5 separate regions of the Homo sapiens genome follow, and all the other regions are linked to region 1. Evidence: promoter capture Hi-C in 16 types of primary human blood cells and fetal thymus (Javierre and others, 2016). All regions are on one chromosome and are shown on one strand. The core of a region is centred on a gene start or on the middle of the fragment in contact, and the rest is flanking DNA. Distances in the headings are between cores, read along the strand shown. Region 1 holds the start of C10orf67 (chromosome 10 open reading frame 67). Region 2 overlaps LOC105376454 (a long non-coding RNA gene). Region 3 has its middle 99 kb from the start of OTUD1. Region 4 has its middle 60 kb from the start of OTUD1. Region 5 has its middle 42 kb from the start of OTUD1.

Region 1 (2,878 bases), core at 181-2,680:
GCCAGGAGGTACTGTCTGTGCAGAAGGGACCCTCATCAGACCTGGAATCTGCCAGTGGGCTTCCCAGCCTCCAGAACTGGGAGAAACAAATTCCTGTTGCTTATAAGCCACCCAGCCTATGTTGTTTTGTTACAGCAGCCCGAGGGGACTAAGACGGGTACTGTGTCCTAGATTAGCTCATTTAATATTCACTATGATCTATGAAGCAGGCACTACTCTTCATCATTCATGAACGATTATTTCCCGCTGAGAAAACTGAGGCACAGAGCAGTCAGTCGCCTAACTCACGGCCCCTGTGAGAGGGTCGCCAAGATTCTGGAATCCGGGCAGTCTGGCTCCAGAGTCCGTGCTCTTAGTGTCCAGCTATACACTTGAAGAAGTGAAAACTGCAGCTCTTTTCGGACAGTGATCCCCTCGAAAAACAAACAAAAAACTGAAGCCCAGCGGCTGGAGCAAGGGGCCTGGAAAGGCGTTGAGCGAGGGCCGGGGCGCGAGGGCTCCGGGGCGGGCCGGCGGGGACTGCCTCTCCCGCTGGTCACCTGGGGTTGAACTGGAATTGTTCAATAGAGGCCTCGAGGCCCTCCATGATCTTCCGGCCCTCCTCTGTCTCAGGCGAGTCGCCCCAGTTCGCCATTGCAGCCCCGGACGTGCGCCTCCCGCGGAGCCGCTCGCTCTCCTGAGTCGGAGTCGGGAACCCGGCGTCCGTTGCCATGGCGACTCCCAGGTAACCGGCGAAGCGCGGGAATCCGTGGGCGGGGGCCGGGGAGGGCCGCGAGTGGAGGGGGGTGGGGAACGGGGTGGGGAGGGGAAGGGGGAAGGAGATGGGGAGGAGGGGGATAGGGAGAAGGTTGGGGATGGGGGGGAAGGGGAGAGGGAAAGGAAGTAGAGGAGGTGTGGAGGGAAGGAAGAGGGGGAAGGAGTGGGGGAAGGGGGAAGAGATGGAAAGGAGGATGGGGAGGGAGCACGCGCGGGAGGAGGGGAGTGGAGAGGGGGAGGAGGAGGCGGGGCGGGCTCCCAAGCCACCCCGCTGCGCTTTCACTGTCCCGCCTGCCTCAAGGCTTCCCCACAAGACTCCCACAGCCTGGAGGCTGCTGCGATACCCCAGAGGAAAGCTGCACCCCCGTAAATAACCCTTCAGCCTCCCGCCGTGCCCCTGGACCCTGCTCGCTTCCTCCTCTACCCAGGCGCGGAGCTCAGCCTACCTCGTGGACCCGCGCATTTGCGGGGGCTTGAATTCCCGAGCTTCTCGCTTCCTACGCGCGCAGCAGACCCGCAGCTCGGTGGCCTTGGCTTTCATGGCCTCCCAGCGTGTGCCAAAGGTCCCCCTCAAGGAGGAGGAAAAGCAGTGAACCCATCTAATAACTATGCTCATGACATAATGAGCCCTGCGATCCCGGACCAAGGCCATCATAAGAGGAGAGCAGGCTGCCTAATAAGCTGTCTCCACCTGCCACAAACGTAGGCGTTCCTGGACAAAATATTTCCTTGCAGAGATTAAACAGATTTCTATTTAATGAGGTCAGAATGTGAGGCGTTAAGTCTTAAACTATACCATCTAGTGTGGAATTCAATTTTACCAGGTTTCTACAATAATAAGAGTTAATAGTGAAACTGTTGTCATCCTTAGTTTTAAATTATGTATCACTCATTGTCAACTAATAGGAGACACCTATTCTAATATCAGTATGTCATTGTTTTTCTGTAAACGACTGGCTAAATTTATTTTTAAAATGTCATTGTCTGGTTTAGAACTGTCTATACTACATCTGCATTTCAATATATTATCTACAGAAAAATAAGTTTTTTCTCCTCTCTCTTATTATTATTATTATTATTTTTTGGAGCCGGAGTCTCGCTCTGTCGCCCAGGCTGGGGTGCAGTGGCGCGATCTGGGCTCACTGCAACCTCCGCCTCCCGGGTTCAAGCAATTCTCCTGCTTCAGCCTCCCGAGCAGCTGGGACTACAGGCACACAGCACCAAGCCAGGCTAATTTTTTGTATTTTTAGTAGAGACGGGGTTTCACCGCGTTGTGCAGGCTAGTCTAACTCCTGAGCTCAGGCAATCTGCCCCCCTCGGCCTCCCAAAGTGCTAGATAACAGGCGTGAGCCACAGAGCCCGGCCTCTTCTCTGTCTTGTAACAGTAAGTGAAAATAACTTAGCTGGATTTAGAAGCTCAAAACAGGAAAAGAAAAGCACTGTAGCATTATCACTACTATTATGTTTAAAGACAAAGATTAAAAGCCCCAAATGCCAATAAAACATCATAACCAATGCCAAAATCATCTTCTGTGAAGGCTTATTTTTTGGGGGGGAGATGAAGAGAGAAGAGAAAAAGAGTTACTTTTACTCTTTGGAGGTTTTTAATTACAAACTCTAACTTCAGACTTTATTTGGGGAATTTTTATTATATAATCAAAAGGTATTTTAAAAGAAAGAAATTTATATATCTACAATAACTTTTCTTTTTCCTAAGTGATATTTTACCACAATGTATATACATGTTTTAAAATAAAGATTAAAATTTTAAGTTAAAATTTCAAAACCTATCTGTTTAGAGCTGGGCCAAGACAGTGTAAAGAATGTGACAAGCTGTTGGCTATTTTCCTAGTGCAATTATAAATGAATCGTTTGAAACTGAGGAGAGAGATCGCACAGAAGATTTCATGAGTCATTGGTCAGCTCTGTACAGCATTTGTTGACTGATATAGTCTGCATAGTTACGCCATCCCACAAAAACATGCATTGAACAGAACATCTTTGTTTGAAACCTTGCTATAGCATATCAAGGAGTTTCAGATTTCAGTGTCTAAGAGACCACGCTATGATGATGATTGTTTTTGAAACCGTTAACTACATAATACTTCTCTTCTTGTCAGTT
Region 2 (2,878 bases), core at 258-2,757, 210 kb after region 1:
AGTACAGTGGCTCAATCATGGCTCACTGCAGCCTCAACCTCCTGGGCTCAAGCAATCCTCTTGCTTCAGCCTTCCAAGTAGTTGGGACTACAGGCACTTGCCACCAAAGCTGGCTACTTTTTAAATTTTTTGTAGAGACAGAGTCTCACTATGTTGCCCAGGCTGGTCTTGAACTCCTGGACTCAAGCAATTCTCCTGCCTCAGCCTCTCAAAGTACTGGGTTTACAAGTGTGAGCCACCGTGCCCAGCCTTTCTCCAAGGTTTGGTTGCAGTTGTATCCTTCCATTATCTCAGATGTCAGCACAGCAGGTTGTAACCTAGTTTTCGTAGGGCACCTAAATGGTTAAATCAAAAGGGTGATAACAGTAGCCAGTGATATTTCTCTTCTCTGCAACAACAAACTCTTGTAGGACCCCCGATTTCTCTCTTTGATGTTCTTCTCAAATATCTCAGGAAACCCTCAGGGGAATTTTGGTGGATTTTCAAGCACAGTCCTCTTTGGTTCCTTGCAGAGCCTGATATCGCCCACTCTCCTGCTAAGCCTCTCCTGTGGTGACCTGCTGCACTGTTCTTTGATGCCCACCACGGCACTAGGAAGGTGCCCAGCACAGTCAGGTTACCCTTTGGTCAAACCACATGGACTGTCTACCTGCTGTGTCACTGATGCTGCAGAAGATGTTGTATTCTCTACCAAAGTGCGGAGAGTCTGTCCCCTTGTACCCAAACATCATGTAATACTCTCACCTGGCCAGAGCAGTGCTGCCTTGGGCTCTAAACACACTCTTGTCTGCATGCAGTTGAGTAGCTGGATGGGCTCAGTGATATGCTCAATGTCCTCCTTACTCTCCAGTTGGCCAATAGTTCTTGGGGCCTTGACATTGAACCAAGCTTGTGTGCCTGACTTCCAGCCTCTTCCGTCTTGGTTCCATGCATAAATAGACTCTAGGGTCCCATTGGGGCCTTCCGGATACCACCAGAATGCCTGAATCTTAAGCTGACTACAGTTTAGGTTCAAGCTAGAATCCTTTCTGCTCATCTGAGGAAATGTCTAAGGAAATGACTCAGAATCATGTATTAAGTTTGAATCATCCTAGTAGGCCTGGGCCATCTGCTCATACGTGGTAAGGAAAGAATTGTGGTTTCAGGCATATGGCTTTTGCTATTAAGCTTTATTGTCGTCTCTTATTGGTGAGAATGATATATTGTTTAAAACTAAGGAGTTGTGATAGCATGTTACTGAACCTACAGCAAAATACCATCTCAGTTACATTTATGATTTGATGCCTAAACTAATGGAATGAGCATGAGAGCAGCAATGAGTGGTGCATGCAAAGAATTGGGACATGGACAAAAAACAGGCTATTTCTTATTTATTGGCAACTTTTTACAAAATTGAGAGCGGCTGGCAGTTGTCAGAAAGAAGGCCTGGATGGTCAATCTCCTTGTACCGATGGTGAGTATTGACAATAATTTTTTTTTGTATTTCTTTTCACTTCCAAAGGATAGGGAAATTTGGCGACCTCAACCTGTCCAAGTCTTCAGGATCTGCTGCTGCCACTGTTCACTGCAATTCCTTAGGTTTAGCTTAATTGGCGCCATTGGGAACATGTAGAAATTCATTTTAGAGAGTGCTACCTTGATGACTTAACGGTCTTACAATAGTAGGCAGAGACAGAAAGGTGAGTATCAGATATGTGCTTTAGAAGCATGTTGCTTTAATCCAATCTCCGCTTTTAGACAGACCTCATGATAAAAACTTCCTTACGGCTTTCTAACCTATTCTAATATGTATCCTAAAGACATCCTGTGGTTACGTATCCTGTGTCTCACAGGCATTATTATTTAGAGAAAGCTTTCCAACTTTTGAAACTTGAGTCATTTATTCCAGTTTTATCTTTAGTGAAAATGACAGATTCTTATTTAATTCTTCTGGCTTTAAATTGCATGTGGAATGGGATGTGAAGGAATGCATCTAAGTTCTGAAGTCAGACAGACCTGAATTTAAACCTTGGTTTCACCACTTGCTAGGTGTGTGACCTTTAGCAAGTCACTTAACCTCTCTGAATTTCTCTTTATTCAACTCTAAAGTGGGGATATAATGCACATATTGTCAGGTATCATAGAAATTAAATAAAATAATGGATGTGAACATGGCTGGCATACCTTACTGTTCAACAGTTGTCCTTGCCCTATGTGTTATTTTCAGATATGCCGTAAATCCAAGTCATTATTTCATATTGATCTGGCTGCTTATGTAACAGGTGACGTCAGCAAAGAAAGAGTTCGTTACAGTAAAGGAAATCTTTAGAAAGCTAGTTACAGCTTGAAGATTGGACTGGGATCCGGGAGATGGAATTATTTTGCAACCTAAGATTAGTTCAGGGAAAAAGATTAATGAGTCACATTATGCAAACAGATCAAGCTAATGAAAAATGAAAATGTTCTGGTTTGCAGCTTGAGTTGATTTAATAATATTTGTGCAATAACAACATTAAATTCAAGGTCTCTTCCAGCAAATTGGACTTTACCCGGAACTTTTCTCTCAGAGGAAAGGTCCTCCTCCCTGGAATCACAATCTAACTGATCGCTTTGGGTGCAGCCCTCTCTGTGGTGCAATTTTAGGGCCGTCTAGAGTTCTCCCTCCCTCTGTGAGTCTCAAACACTCGGCTCTTTCTCTTCCTTCCTCTGATGTAGCTATTGAGGTGATTGTCGCTTTCATCTACCTCTTTCTATGAATTAAGTTATCTGATCGAATTATAGAGTAAGCCAGAATCAGAGATTAATACGTAATTGGCACACATTTATCTGATTAACCCTAGCAGGGAATAGAGTTCCAAGTTAAATGTTGTTGAGGAAGAACAAGTCGGGTTCCAGAATG
Region 3 (2,878 bases), core at 138-2,637, 190 kb after region 1:
AGACCACATTTTTTAACTACAATGTTATTGTGAAGTGAACAAGTATAGGTTGCCATGTTTGTGTTTTGTTTTGTTTTTAAATTAGCTCAAATTCACAGCTGGACCATAATAATTAAAAATCTTAAGAGCTAGCTTTGTTATAAATGAAAAGAACACATTGAGGGTAGGAAAACCCTGCAAATACTTGGAATTTTGATTTTTAATTTCTAAAGAAATTCTGATTTGATTTCTAATCCTAGCCTCTTAGGTTTTCCCAGAGGCATCTTGCTATCTTACTTGTCTTTTCTTTCTCTAGAATCTTCAGTTTTTCTCTTTTGATTCCTTTCTCTTGCCCATGTCTACTCCATCTTGGGAAAAACCATGAGTGACCTAGTCTTGACTGTACCTGCTTTCTCTAGTTTTTTAAAAATACCTGTTTCTCCCTTCCACTCCCTCCATTTCTTCAAGCTTCTTCTCTTGAAGGTCCAAGTAACCTCTCTGTGAAGTTCAAAGACATTTGTCATTTCTACTATTTCTTGCTCCTTTATTTCCTGTAATACTGGAAAGTCCAGCACCTTTGCTTCTTTTTTCCTTTTCACCTCTCGTCTTCCTCCCACCCTCTCACTGTGGGTTTCTCCAATGCTTATTTCTTAGAACTCTGCTGTTCTTTTGATACATTTTCCCCTTTGCAAAGGTCATCTGTTTTCAAAGTTTCATCTCTCCCTTTCATACAAGCTCTTTTAGATCTATCTATACCTTTGTCATTTCCTCTTACATGAATGCCAGTATTTATTTCCAAATTCTTCCTGGAAATTTCCATTTAAATATTTTACGGTCACCATTAAACTCAAAGTGCACAAGCCTGAGCTTATAATCAGTGTTTTCCACATGGAAATAAATTTTTGAAGAAAGATGAGGGGTCTATTGGGAAAGAACTCACTTAAAGTTGAGAAAATTGCAATTAGTAAAATATCTAATTATTATTTTAATAACAATAATAATAGAAAAACACAAAGCATGTGCATTAAACCTGGCACCATTTTAAGTACCTTATATGGATTAACTTATTTAAACCTTAAAACAGTTATTATTCTTATTTTACAGTTGAAGGAATTCAGCCTAGAAATGCTAAAGCAACAGCCCCCCAACAAATGACATCACATGGCTGTTAAGTGGAGGATACAAATTCATCTCAGGCAATGTCGTTGAATTAATGGAGTCTACTCCTAACCAATACATTATATTTCCATGCCCTGTTTTCTAATTTCCCATGCTCAAAACTATACTCATTAACATTCTTTTTTTTTTCCAGTCCAATCCATAACTTCTCTACTTCTCTTTCAAAATGTTTTTGTTGTGTCTATCAGTCAGGGTCTGCAAAGGCACAGATGGTCCATTCCAAAAAGACACAGAGGGATGGTTCAGAAAACCAGGAAGAGATGAGGAGGCTCCCAGGTATTAAACTATTGGGATGCTGTTACCACTCCTAGTATTGAAAGGACAAAAGGGATGGGCAATGCTCTGGGTTGCCAGTTCAGAGAAAGCTGATCGATGGAGCTGGGTCTACCCACCAGTTCCCAGAGGAACACAGCCGCTATTGAACACTGCAGAGGCATGGCATAGGGTGAGGAGGTGAGTGTGGAAAGCAAATGCCCACCCCTTCTCTCCAAGAGCCTTCCAATTTCTTGCTTGTGCTTTGTAACCTCATGCCTGGATCCTTACTACCTCTTCAATAACCTTACTTCATTCCCTTCTGCTCTATCCCACCACACATTGCCAGATCAGTCTCTGAGATGCTGCGTTCCTTATGCCATTTTTCTTCTCACAACCTTGAATGGCTGGGAACTACTCCTCAGTTTGTTGTTGGTGATCCCCAAATCCTGAGTCCAATCTCTCATTCCAGTGTTATCTTCTGCAGGTCTCCTAGCCCCTTGCTCTAATTGGCCTCCTCACCATTCCCCTCTCTACACACAGCTCATTTTCCTGCCTGCTTCAAATGCCATTACATAGCCCTCTGTACACGTGGAACAATTTTTGTCTTCCATCTACATATTATATATCCTTCAAGGCCCATCTCCTCTGCAGACCTTCTCTGACTGCTCCTACATACATGGGTTCCTCTGTTTTCTTTGATTTTTGTTGAATTGCGGGTAGCATCTTACCAATCCTGTCTTAATTATGTTTGTGTTTGTTTCATGATTGTGCATCTTGTCTCCTCTAGCTGAAGGGTGAGGATTCTAAATCAGTGGTATGGTCCATGGTTCATTGGTGTGACTCATTTTTTAAGCTGTAACAAACAGTTTGAAGGGGCATAGTTCATGTGTCTCAGCAAAGAGTGATCTATGCTCTAAGCTTCTTACTATAAAACCAGGGGAATCCCAGCCTCAGGTACCTCTCTCTCGTCGCAGGGTCCCAGGTGTTCCCCTTTGCTGCTAGAAGCATGTCAGATCAGTGCCCCAAGATCATCTCTGCAGTGCTTGGTCTTTGCTGCTGTAGGTTGTAGGCCTTACTGCAATAGGTCTTTGACGTTGATCAGTGCTCAGTAAACACCTTTCAACTTTCTTTCTGGGAATTGTTCATTTCCATGGGCTCTGCATGCTTTTCAATGTTCATGGTGCAAACCATCCTGTTTGCCAAGAATTGCCTGTTGGGATGAGATTATTTGAAGTATAACAAAGCTTCATACCTCCAGAGAATTCTAGCCTGCTGACGCTTACTTAGTATCTGTGGCTGAAGTTGGTCCATGTCAACTCTTCCCCACTCTAGGGCAATGCTGGGGACATGGTCTTCATTTCTCTTCTTTGCTCAAGAATTTCAGTGCTGGAGTTGACTGTGAGCTCTGTTCAACTGGGAAACCTCTGAGAAACTCTCTGTGACATGCTTGGACATACTTATTTCC
Region 4 (2,878 bases), core at 273-2,772, 150 kb after region 1:
ATTACTGAGATACTAATCAGTATCTAAGGGAAATGAAATTGTTTCTATCACACGATTTCTCTGAATTGAAATAGATTTTCGAAGTGATTTATGGATTTTTTTTCTGAAGAATATTCTAGCTACATTTTCAAAACTGCTGGAAATTCTCCCTGAGGATTAGTATAAAAGTACATGTGAATCTATGCTCTTCTTTTATTTAATTGAATATATATGTTTATATATATATTTGTATTATATATATGTATTTTATATATATATATATATATATAGAGAGAGAGAGAGAGAGAGACAAGCTCTCGCTGTGTCAGCCAGGCTGGAGTGCAGTGGCGCAATCACAGCTCACTGCAGCTTTGACCACCTGGGCTCAAGCAGTCCTCTCACCTCAGCCTCCCAAGAAACTGGGACTGCTGGTGTGCACCACCATGCTCAGCTACTTTAAAAAAATGTTTTGTAGAGATATGGGTCTCACTGTGTTGCCCAGGCTGGCCTTGAATTCCTGGGCTCAAGCAATCCTCCTGCTATGGCCTCCTAAAGTGCTGAGATCACAGGCGTGTGTGACTGCACCTGGCTAAGCTGTGTTCTTTTTATTCTTTACCAACATGAGAACTCAAGAGTAGACAGACACTCAGACTTCCCCCAAAGTCAACCTTGCACATAGGTGAATTTTACAGCTACAAGATTACAGGACTATCAGCAGTTCTATTTTTTTTTTCCCCCATTTGGTCATTTATAAGCCAGTAGTGACACCATCCTTTTCCCTGTAAATCTCCTGAAAGAAATCCCAAATATTAGACTATTGCTTTGGGTTACACACTAAACAGGTAAATGATCTCCTGGACCACTAGAACCCACTACTAAAATATATATTTGGTACCATAATCTCTCTGGTCTGTTTCCTCATCTATAAAATGGGAATAATAGTAGTATCCACCTAATAGAATTTTTAAAAGTACTTATTTATAGTATGAAATAGAGACAGGGTCTCCTTGTGTTGCCCAGGCTGGTCTCGAACTCCTGGGCTCAAGCAATCTTTCTACCTTGGCCTCTCAAAGTGCTGGGATTTCAGGTGTAATCACCATGCCCAGCCTACAGCTGTCATGAAGAGTAAATATTAATACACGTAAAGCCCTTAGAACAGTGCCTACCATAGAGCAGTCCACCAATTAAAGTGACACATTTATTACCTAAGAGGGAAGAGAGAATAAGCCATCTTCCATGAAGCTGTCAGCGAAGAGTGGCAGAAAAGTGGAGGCGATTGAAACTGGGTGAATTTGGCAGTTCAGAGTCAGATTTCATGGCACTGGGGCAAAGGAAGCTGCCCAGGAGGGGTGCACCATGACCAAGATTTATCTGTCTGCTTAGGAGGGCATTTCCCGTGGACATGGTGTCTCCCAGTGTGTGGCCAGGGGAAGGCAGGGGCAGCCCACATCTGCCTTCAACCTGTTGTCATCTCTGAGCACAAGCCCCAGCCTGGGCAGCCTTTGAAGGATGCTGCTTTCTTCCACTCCAGACACAGGGTCCGTCTAACATTAAATAGGATGATACATTTGTTTTTTTTTTTATTTTGAGACTCTTGCGCTGTCGCCTAGGCTGGAGTGCAATTGCACGGTCTCAGCTCACTGCAGTCTCTGCCTTCTGGGTTCAAGCGATTCTCCTGCCTCAACCTCCTGAGTAGCTAGGATTACAGGCATGTGCCACCACACCTGGCTAATGTTTGTATTTTTAGTAGAGATGGGGTTTCATCATGTTGGCCAGGCTGGTCTTGAACTTCTGACCTCAAATGATCCACCTGCCTCAGCCTCTCAAAGTGCTGGGATTACAGGCGTGAGCCACCGCACCCGGCCAAGGGATGCTACTTCTTTTCCAGGCTCTCATTTCACATATCCAAATGGGGGAAAAAAAAAACAAAAAAAAAAAACATGTTGTTTACCTCTTTAAGCCTGTGTAGTCAGATACTTTTCTTAACCAACCTCTTTACTCAAAGAATTGCAATGCCTCCTCCAGGTGTATATTTAGAAATGTTGCCATGGTCACTGTTTCCAGTTTGGGCGTCTGTCATTTGGCTGTTACAGCCTGCAGGTGAGATGCTTCTCATGGCCACATCACATCATGTCTGGGTGAGCATGGGGGTGGGGAGTGAGGGGCCCAGAAAAGCCTGTTACTGCCGTCAGCACCCTTGCTGATTGCTTTATGATTTTACTTTAATTGGGCAGGTCACATGGCCTCCCTGGAGCGACATTCTGCCCTTTATGAAATGAGACTGCTGGCTGAGCCTCTAGAGCACCTTCAAGCTCTGATGTCGTATTTGATTGATGTGACCCCAATCACTAAGAAGTTGACTTACTCTAGGGCTGCTAACGTATTTCTTACATACCCGTTACAAAAGCAAAACCAGAGACCTTTTCTACTCAGTAACAATCTCGAATAGATTGGATCTAGTGACCCCGAAGCCACTGTGACAGTTGATTTCTCCCTGGGCTCCATTCCCTCTGGTCTGACCCCTACTGTCCCAATTGACTTGAAACAGGCTTTGCTGTTATTTACTTTCTGAAGACTCCCAAACTTTAAGCCAGTTCATCAGAAAACCTCCTGGGCTCCTGAGACTTCATGGAAGTAAAAGGTTTTAATTCTAGTCTATGCAGGATTGGTCTGAACACGGCGAGACTGTTCAAAATAAGTATTATCTGGGACTCTTCTGTTATTGACAATAGCTGATTTAATAAGTGCTCAGTAATACTTTGAATAGGGTCACTTTCCAGATATGATCCTGATAATATTCGCTAGGCATTTGGCAACATTGCTTCATGACATTTATAAGCAAATTGCTTAGCAACTGTGGAGAGAGGGCATGCAAAGTAAATTACTAATATGGGACTAT
Region 5 (2,878 bases), core at 240-2,739, 140 kb after region 1:
AATGAGATAGTACTTTATAAAATCTCTGAACAGCCCTGGACTTGTGTTTACTTGGGCAGAGGTATATACAAAGGAACTGGCCTGCAGCACACAACTGAATTTGGTGGCCCTGAGTGAGTATCTACTTTATAAGGTGGTGGTGTTCTGCCCTCTACTATCACCCCTGGAATAAAAAATATAGGTGAGAAGACACCAGTCATCACTTTCTCTTCCCTGGAGGCATGCTCATTGGGCCGATTTTCTCTAATAACTTTCCTAACTGGAGAGGGTGCATGCACACATTTTAAATTAAGAGAGGATTTCTACAGGCAAACAGAACACGTTCTCCCCTTGTTGCAATATTTGTCTTCTGGGAAAGGACTTGCAGAGCCTTGTGGTAAGTTGCTTAATAGTGGTCATGGTCGGTTAATCTCATTTTTCCCTCTAAGAGAGAGGGGACAAAATAACTGCCTGGTGAATATCAGGGTCCCTAGGCTTATATGGGGAAATTGGATGAAAGTTCTCCCAGGACAGCAATGTTTTATTCTGAAATCAAAAATTGGCTTTCCAGGGCAGGGATTTTGAGGGGAGTCCATAATCCTCAGGGAAGTCCTTGGTCTTTGGGTGGGCTCCTGGATGGTGGAGATTCTTCTAAAAGGAGGCAACACAGTTTTTTTTTTTTTTTTTTTTTTTAAGACAGAATCTCGCTCTGTCACCAGTCTGGAGTGCAGTGACACGATCTCGGCCCACTGCAACCTCTGTCTCCCGGATTCAAGCAATTCTCCTGCCTCAGCCTTCTGAGTAGCTGGGAGTACAGGCACGTGACACCATGTCTGGCTAATTTTTTTTGTATTTTTAGCAAAGACGGGGTTTCACCATGTTGGCCAGGTTGGTCTTGAACCCCTGACCTCAAATGATCCACTCTCCTTGGCCTCCCAAAGTGCTGAGATTACAGGTATGAGCCACTGTGCCCAGCCTAGCACTGTCTTTTTTGTGTGTACATTTTATCAGTTTTTAAAAAGCTTCTCTGACTTCTAAAATCATTCTTAGAAATTCTTCTGCAGCATTCCCGAAGCTAAGACTTGCTCTGCAAATTACATTAAAAGTAATTCTTAATTCTTATGTGAAACTTTTATGCCATTATCCCATTTCGTTTTTCACAATTTTAAATAAAACAGATAAAACACCAAGGACATAAAAGCAGTACAGATGGCCCCGACTTTCAATGTTCAGCTTACAATTTTCTGACTTTAGGATGGTGCAAAAGCAATATGCACATGGTAGAAACTGTCCTTTTAAAAATTTGGGGCCAAGTGTGGTTTCTCATGCTTATAATCCCCATACTTTGAGAGGCCAAGGCTGCAGGATTGCTTGAGCTCAGGAGTTTGAGACGAGCCTGGGAAACATGGTGAGACCCCATTTCCACAAAAAATAAAAAAATTAGTCAAGTGTGGTGATGCTTACCTGTGGTCGTAGCTACTCAGGAGGCTAAGGTGGGAGGATTGCTTGAAGCCCAAGAGGTTGCCGTTAGAGAACCATAGAGCATTCAAGAATGTGAGCAAGCATACATTTCCCATTTATTATTTCCATAAGAAGAAAGCCTGGATGACATCAACATTGTGCAAAGACTTGTTTCAAACCGGTTTTAGTCCACAGGCAAGAGAATACTATTGGCAAAACAACATCCCATGCAAGATTCTTCTGATGCTAGATAATGCTCTGGGGCAAGCACAGCATATTGGTGACATGCATCCTGATGTAAATGTTGTGTATTTGCCACCAAACAAAACTGCACTAATTCAACCAATGGACTAAAGCACAAGAGCTGGGTTCATAGCATACTATGTACACCAGATGTTTGCACAGGCTGCTGAAATGACTGAATCTGGCCAAATGCTCCTAGAGTTTTGGAAAGGTTCTAACATTCTAAGTGCTATCCAGAACATGACTGCAGCACAGGAAGAAGTCACACAGCAATGCATAAATTGCTTTTGGAAGAAAGCTTTGAAGACATATGTGAACACATTCAAAGGCTTTAACAAAGACCCTGCTGTTGATGGAATAGTAACAGTGTATTAGTGCTTGGGAAACAGGTGGAATTTGACATTGATGAGGAGGATGAGCTTGTTGGCTTTGAGGCTGAAGAATTTATCAATGAGGAGCTGATCAAACGGGAGTAAGAAAGAAGTAAAGAACTTGAGGCAGAGGAAGAAGTTTTACCCAAGGCACCAAGAAAGTGCACAGCAATGAAGCTGCAGAGGTGTTTGCTATGATTAGCAGTGGTGTATAGATGTTATAAGAAGTGGATGTATTAAAAAGACACATGTCCTCGTGTGTTCATTGCAGTGCTGTTCACAATAGCGAAGACATGGAGTCAACCTTGGTGCTCATCAATGGTGGTGTGGATGAAGAAAATGTGGTACATATATACCATAGAATACTATGCAGCCTTAAAAAGAACGGAATCATGTCCTTTGCAGCAACATGGATGGAGCTGGAGGCCATTATCCTGAGTGAACTAATGCAATAATAGAAAACCAAATACCAGATGTTCTCCCTCATAAGTGGGAGCTAAACATTGAATACACATGAATGTAAAGACAATAGACACTGGGGAGTACTAGACGGGGAGGGAGGGAGGGGAGCATGGGCTGAAAAACCACCTGTTAGGTACTATCCTCACTGCCTGGGTGACAGAATTGTTGGAATCTCAAGTCTCAGTATCATGCAATATACCCATGTAACAAACCTGCACATGTAGCCTTTAATCTTTTTTTTTTTTTCTTGAGACAAGGTCTCACTCTATTGCCCAGGCTGGAGTGCAGTGGCGTGATCATGGTTCACTGCAACCTCCACCTCCTGGGTACAAGCAATTCTCCTGCCTCAGCCTCCGAGTAGC

Evidence for each region. The method cuts DNA at HindIII sites, captures the fragments that hold promoters and counts their contacts. A CHiCAGO score of 5 or more calls a contact.
Region 2: a fragment that was not itself captured here is called in contact with the fragment with the promoter of C10orf67 in region 1 in 2 of 17 cell types (monocytes and M0 macrophages); the score reaches 5.2 in monocytes.
Region 3: a contact is called between a fragment that was not itself captured here and the fragment with the promoter of C10orf67 in region 1, in 5 of 17 cell types (total B cells, monocytes, non-activated CD4 T cells and 2 more). The highest score is 5.9, in total B cells.
Region 4: a fragment that was not itself captured here is called in contact with the fragment with the promoter of C10orf67 in region 1 in 1 of 17 cell types (monocytes); the score reaches 6.9 in monocytes.
Region 5: a contact is called between a fragment that was not itself captured here and the fragment with the promoter of C10orf67 in region 1, in 1 of 17 cell types (monocytes). The highest score is 5.9, in monocytes.

Annotation. Positions count from the first base shown.
Region 1 is chr10:23,343,367-23,346,244 of GRCh38, forward strand. C10orf67 (chromosome 10 open reading frame 67) reads right to left here and starts at 1,431. Exons shown (of 16, transcript NM_001371909.1): 1 at 1,203-1,431. The coding sequence starts at 1,408. It overlaps C10orf67-AS1 (C10orf67 antisense RNA 1), which reads left to right and starts at 591. Exons shown (of 2, transcript NR_155752.1): 1 at 591-724; 2 at 1,058-1,795. RefSeq lists a silencer at 2,554-2,848. The HindIII fragment of the contact is 9,174 bases long and covers 1-2,878 here.
Region 2 is chr10:23,556,135-23,559,012 of GRCh38, forward strand. LOC105376454 (a long non-coding RNA gene) reads left to right here. Exons shown (of 9, transcript XR_930754.3): 4 at 1,502-1,679. Among named protein-coding and RNA genes, the nearest start is that of OTUD1, 120 kb to the left of the region's middle. The HindIII fragment of the contact is 685 bases long and covers 1,166-1,850 here.
Region 3 is chr10:23,536,871-23,539,748 of GRCh38, forward strand. No RefSeq gene overlaps it. Among named protein-coding and RNA genes, the nearest start is that of OTUD1, 99 kb to the left of the region's middle. The HindIII fragment of the contact is 1,884 bases long and covers 446-2,329 here.
Region 4 is chr10:23,497,445-23,500,322 of GRCh38, forward strand. No RefSeq gene overlaps it. Among named protein-coding and RNA genes, the nearest start is that of OTUD1, 60 kb to the left of the region's middle. The HindIII fragment of the contact is 3,870 bases long and covers 1-2,878 here.
Region 5 is chr10:23,479,926-23,482,803 of GRCh38, forward strand. No RefSeq gene overlaps it. Among named protein-coding and RNA genes, the nearest start is that of OTUD1, 42 kb to the left of the region's middle. The HindIII fragment of the contact is 980 bases long and covers 1,000-1,979 here.